2 separate regions of the Homo sapiens genome follow, and region 1 is linked to region 2. The links are contacts of gene promoters, found by promoter capture Hi-C in blood cells and fetal thymus (Javierre and others, 2016). All regions are on one chromosome and are shown on one strand. Each heading gives the region's core, a stretch centred on a gene start or on the middle of the fragment in contact. The rest is flanking DNA. Distances are from core to core; before and after follow the strand shown.

What was found. The method cuts DNA at HindIII sites, captures the fragments that hold promoters and counts their contacts. A CHiCAGO score of 5 or more calls a contact.
Region 1: a contact is called between the fragment with the promoter of LINC01124 here and the fragment with the promoter of DLX2 in region 2, in 2 of 17 cell types (naive B cells and total B cells). The highest score is 13.5, in naive B cells.

The regions. Positions count from the first base shown.
Region 1 is chr2:170,713,288-170,716,024 of GRCh38, forward strand. LINC01124 (long intergenic non-protein coding RNA 1124) reads right to left here and starts at 1,280. Exons shown (of 1, transcript NR_027433.1): 1 at 1-1,280. SP5 (Sp5 transcription factor) reads left to right here and starts at 2,050. Exons shown (of 2, transcript NM_001003845.3): 1 at 2,050-2,276. The coding sequence starts at 2,226. The region is part of intron 5 of ERICH2-DT (ERICH2 divergent transcript); the gene reads right to left. RefSeq lists a silencer at 1,367-1,416 and enhancers at 1,634-2,423, 2,424-2,737. The HindIII fragment of the contact is 7,273 bases long and covers 1-2,737 here.
Region 2 is chr2:172,101,442-172,104,500 of GRCh38, forward strand. It overlaps DLX2 (distal-less homeobox 2), which reads right to left and starts at 1,459. Exons shown (of 3, transcript NM_004405.4): 1 at 698-1,459; 2 at 21-205. The coding sequence starts at 1,097. It overlaps DLX2-DT (DLX2 divergent transcript), which reads left to right and starts at 1,565. Exons shown (of 5, transcript NR_126376.1): 1 at 1,565-1,827; 2 at 2,497-2,591. RefSeq lists a silencer at 1,261-1,460. The HindIII fragment of the contact is 7,057 bases long and covers 1-3,059 here.

The DNA of each region.
Region 1 (2,737 bases), core at 30-2,529, 1.4 Mb before region 2:
GCCAGGCCTCGGATGAAACCACTAAGCTCTCTCCCCTTCTCCGCTCCCAGAGCAGCCGACCTCATCTTCAGAAGCCAGATCGGGTCGGCCAAGTTGTGTGGTCGCCGCTCGCGTTTTAGAGGGGACAACTCGTTGGGGGAGAAGGGGGCGTGCGAGTGCAGGATGTGCGAGGGACCCATTGTATTTGGGTCGCAAGCAGCCCACCCGTCTTGAGTACGATATTCTCATTCCGCAGGCGCGCCCTGGGCGTGGGAGAAGGTGGGCCCGGAGGCATCGCATCCCCGACCCCTGATGGAAGTGCGGAGGGCATCCTTATACAGTCCAGATTCCGAGTCCGTTGTAGTTAGGCTAACCTCTGACGCTGCATCGGGAGATAGGTCACCCCGTCCGTCCCGGTCGCAGTGCGGTTCCCGTGAGGAAGACGGGCAGAGAGGCCGGGCGCGAACTGATTAGGGGCTCCCCCACGGCCGGCGGCCTGGAGAGTGGAGACTGTGTCCGACGGGAGGTGGGTGGGGGAGAGGAGTAGGCCGAGCTCCGGCGGCCACTCCGCAGTGCGCTCTCGCGAGCCGGGGCCGCGAGGCCTCCAACGCGGTTCCGCACCCCTAATGCCCCAGGGCGGTGAGCACCCCGCGGTTCCCCGCCCGCCTCTTCCTCCTTCCCCGCCCGCGCGCCCGGGAGAGGCGATCCCCGCGTCCGCAGTGCCGGGGCAGGACGCGCCCTGCGCCCTGGGCCAGGAGGAGGCAGGTGGCCCTCCTCGGCAGGAGGTGAGCCGCCAGGGAGGGATGGGGGTCACCCAAGCCCCTGCAAGCGCGACCCTGCCCAGAGCAAAGCACGCCCCGCGCCTGGTGAGGAACTTTTTCTTTCCAAAGGTGGCAGGAACAAGTCTGTACTGACTTTTCTCCCGCCTTCGGGATCCTCTCTCGTATGATTTGTGGTTTGTGGGACCACAACAACCAGGCTTCCTCGACCGCGCCTTTTTTCCAGTAGCTCCTGGTCTGCCAGGCTTGCGAGAGGGCGCGCTGGCTTGGCGGGGCTCCGGGCGAGAAATCACCAGCAGCGCTGGGGCTTTCGGCCCCCCACAGCCCAGCCCGGGCCTCCTGGGTGGCCTGGGGAGAAGGGGGCGGGACAGCACAGCTTCTTCCCCTCGGGTGGGCATGACGGGTCGCCTTGGGTGTCCTGCCGAGCTCAGCTTTGAGGGTATGCGCGGCGCGGGTGTTTTTCCCAGGTCCACTCTGCAAAAGTTGTGGCCTGAGGAAAACTTCCAGGTCGCCAGCAGGAACGTCACAGGAGAGCCCCGGTCGCTCGTCAGGCGGGCGGCCCTGGAGCGTGCGCGCCACCCAACGCCGCGCTGGGCGGCCGCCCGGCCCCGCCCCAGGTCACAGCCCTGCCCTCGGCCCCACCGCGGCGGGCGGGGGACACGCGGCGGGCCGGGCGCTGTCGGTCCCACGCCCCACCGGGGATCTCGCTTGGGTCCGCTGTGTGCGCGGGCGGGTGCGTGTGCGGCGAGGGTGCAGGGTGTGCAAGTAAATACAGGGGAGAGTTACACTCTTTGCCGTCTCAAAGTCCGGCGCCTGGAAGCCGAAGGCAGATTTTTCCAGAGATAACAAAGACACTTTGTCACTTTGGGCGCTGCGTCGGTGCAAATCTTTAATTGCAAGTGTGTGTGTGTGTGTGTGTGTGTATGTTGGGGGGGGCGGGAAGAGTGTCTCGAGCAACCCAAGCGCGGGTCTCCAGGCGGCAAGGCCCCCTTTGATCAGGAAAATCCAATTATTTGTGTATATACATTTCCCACATAGTGATTACTTCATTAATTGTCCCGCCTTTATCTCCTCCCTTCCCATCCCCCCTAATAATCAGTTCTTTTATCCAGACCAACAAACACACCATAGGAGCTTTGTGGATTCAAAGGATTTGCTTTCGCTTCTGAAAGAGCCGCTATTCTTTGATGATTGGGTAGCGGCAAACTTCAAAGCCATAAATCTTCCCTCTGACTGGCTGGCGGCCCAGCAAAGTCCTTATCAAATTCTTGGAGGTGATCCTGAAGCGCTCAGACCGCGCGCGGGGCGAGCGAGCGGGGCGCGGCGAGGGGCAAGGGCGGGGAGGGCCCCGGCGCTCAGAGCAGGCGCCAGGGAGGCAGGCTGGGCGGCCCTTCGTCCTCGCCTTCGGGTGTCCATGCCTCGGCGGCGGCGTCCCGCTCCGCAGCCAGGGGCCTGCAAGCCGTAGCCATGGCCGCGGTGGCCGTCCTCCGGAACGACTCGCTGCAGGCCTTTCTCCAGGTCAGGGCCGAGCCCGGAGGGGGCGGGAGAAAGGTGGAAAGGGCCGTGTCCGGATCTCTCCTGGTACTCCGTGCACCTTGAACCTCAAAGGGAACCCCGCCGATGGGTGCAGCTGGAGCCAGGCCTAGGGGTGCCCACGCCAACTTCACACCTAATCCGGTGTGGCCTTTGCTGGAGGGACGCGTGGATCCGGGATTGTTCGGAGGTGCCCGGCTGGCCGAGAACAGGACCGGAGCTCACCCTGCTGGGCCCTCCTGCTGATTTCAGCCTGGGGCGGGCCAGGGAGGAGCGCGAAGGCAGTGAGGACAAGAGAGCTTAAAAGATGGGAGGGAGAGCGGCCGGCCGGCGGGGTTGTGGGTGTTTCCCGACTCTTACTGACCACGGAGCCGGGAGGGGCCCGTCGGATGCCTCCCCCTCCCACTTCGCGCCTGCTTCCTCTAAGGCTGGATGGCGTCTCAGTG
Region 2 (3,059 bases), core at 209-2,708:
CTGCAGGGCGCGAGCCCCACCTGAGTCTGGGTGAGGCCCAGAGAGGCCGCCAGCTCGGCTCGCTCCGGCAAGGCCAAGTATTGAGTCTTTTGGAAACGCCGCTGAAGAGCCGCCAGCTGGAAACTGGAGTAGATGGTGCGGGGTTTCCGGACTTTCTTTGGCTTCCCGTTCACTATCCGAATTTCAGGCTCAAGGTCCTCCTTCTCTGCAACGATAAAGAATCGTAAGAACAGCGCAACCCAGGGGTCCTGGAGTTCCCGCCCTCCTAGAGGGCCCGGCGGGGGGGACTTGGCTTGAGCAAAGAGGTGGGTGCACTGAACTGTGGCGCCACGGGCAGGCGCAACTTCGCAGCGTGCGATCGGAGCCGCCACCGACCCCGGGAGCTGTACCCTCCAGGGAAGGGGGAGACAAGTGCACACCCAAGAGAAAGAAGCTGGTGGCAAGGAGATGCCCTTATGAGGCAGGCAGAGCACGCCCACTTGGCTCTTGAGGCCACCAGGTCCTACCAAAGGAGAGAGGGACGTAACCGGCGACCTGCGGCAGATTGGAGGCTGGGGAGGGTAAAGGGCACAAGCGGGCGGTGAGCAGGCAGCGTGAAAATCCAGAGCTTTCGAAGGCCCCCCGCCCCAAACACGTTTACCCATCCATCCCATTAACTAGACCGACTCGGCACTCTTGACTTCAGCGTTATGCATACCAGGCTCGTTGTTGGCTGGGGACGAACTGGTTCCATAGGGAGCGTAGGAGGTGTAGGCGGCGGTGTAGCCCAGGTCATAGCTGCTCTTGGCGGAGTAAGGGACGTTGTTGAGGCCGCTGGCTTGGTACTGGTAGGAACCCATGTGCGCGTAGGGCGAGCCCCCGCCGCCGCCGCCGCCCGCCGGGTGCTGCTGGTTGGTGTAGTAGCTGCTGTCGGTGGCGGTGGACACCGGAAGGGTGGGCGACTCCTGGGGCTTGTGGAGGCTGCTGCTGCTGCTGCTGTTGCCACCCGGGCCGGCGCCGCCGCCGCTCGGGGGCTGCTGGTGCTGGTGGTACGTGCTGGAGGCGGCGATCTGGGTCGAGTGCATATCAGCCACTAGACTGTCAAAGACTCCAGTCATCCTGGCCCGAGACGGGAAAGAGCAGAGGTGGCGGGCGTGCGGGGGAAGCCAGGCGCCTCCTCTGTCTCTCCCGGTCCCCTCCAGCAGCCAATGTAATTACGGGGGTGGTGGTGGGGAAACAAGAAAGGAGGCAACCGTCTAGGCGCCTCCTCCTCCGGGGGAGGCGATCACCGTGCGCTGCTCGGGACAGCTGCCTCTGGTCGCATCCTCTTTCGGCCTCTGGGCCCGCTCGGCTCCTTGCCCAGCGCGAGCGCGGGCTCTGGCGGGGGGCGGGCAGTGGAGGGGGCAGGGGTGGCTGGGCCGGGTCGGGGCTCTGGGAGGCGGGAGCAGGTGAGCGGCCCCGAGCGGCTTTACGATTGTCTGCCAGGCGGGCTCCTGAAGTGTGGGCATTTAACACTCGTCACGTGAGCGCTGGCGACGTCACCTAGCAACAGCCAATCAGAAGCAAACGGCCGCGGAGCTCCGGGAACGCCCGGCCAAGGGGCGGGCGTCACATGGTGGGCGCTGTGGCTGCGGCTGCGGCTGCAGCGGCCCCAGGTGCAAACAGACTGCCGCCGAATGTGAGCAGCGAGGCGAGGGGTCGAGGTAGCGAGGAGTCAGGGTGGCCCGCAGCAGGAAGACAGAAGGCGTGGAGACAGACTGGCGTTTTGCCTCAGAGGAAGAAGTGGGGTCCCCTCTCCCATTCTGTGAGCAAGTGCCAGTTCCAGTGATTCGTACTTTCATGTCCGAGGTCAGTTTTCAAACACATTAAAGTACATCGGTGCCCAGAGTCCAGCCAGCTCTATCTTCACTTTTCCTCGAAGTGTCTGGCATTTATTCTTGTTAGCCACTCGGCACTTGACATAATCAATTGATTTAATTATCCACAAACCACGTGTAATGCTCGCTTCTTAACCAATCCGCAGGGATATTAGGACAATTAATCATATAATATTGAAACGGGTTTTCCTTGTTGCTTCAAAGAGAAGCTACATAAACTTAAAGGTATTATTGCTAATAGTATATTTGAAACCACTTTCCCTGGTACTTTCCCGACACGCGAGACTCTGAGTAATTATATACGTTTGATAAGTAAATGACACCCTGAAAGCCATCCCGAGGACTTCCTCCTTCGGGTGGAAAGGTTCACCAGTTGTCCTTGAAAATTCGATGCTCTTGCGAAAAAGGAAATAGGATAATAGGTGAGATTATAGATTTATCAAGTAGATACTAGATTTATCACTTCTCTGTAAATTTACAACAAATATAAAAAGTTTTATCTGGTTTGTTGAATTTAATCCTGTTTTACAGTTTTGCATTTTAGGACCCTGTTCTACCCTATCATTGCAATTTTTTTCTTTTCCCTCTGTTTTTTAAAAAATCGGAAATGGTGACTTCCTCTGTCTCTATAACCTTGTAGTTGGAAACCTTGGCCCGACGGTGATGGACTGCACGACTTGCTGGACTCCCAAGTCCGAAGTTCCTGCGGCAGCGCTTGCTTTGTGGCGCCACCTGGTGGGCAGTGTGCGAGGTTGCGGGGGGCGGGGTAGACGGTCTAATCACGCCCAGGCGCCAGCCTCTGAAACCCCCCAAAAGAACAAAATAGTAATTAAAAGCCACAAAATTGTGCTAGTGCGCACCATCTGAAGCACCCTTTCCTAAAGACATAACATGTCGCTGAAAGAACTTGTTAAAACAACTGTCTGATAGAAAACAAGTTGATACCTTCAAAAATATGATCTTTGGTCTTCTTCCCCATAAAAAGCAAGTGTGTAATTAAAACTCCAGCATTCACACAGAGAAATAATGAGATAGGTAATGCGCCTTTAAGTCTACCTGGATTTAGTTCCCAGCTTTTTTTTGGTTAAGGAAGGCCCCTAGATGGAAAGCGCCAGCTTATGAGAAACGTTGGAGGTGGAGCTCACCTCCACCCACCTGCATTGCTTTATGCGGTTCTCTGCCTACTTTGTGGGCCTCAGCTGC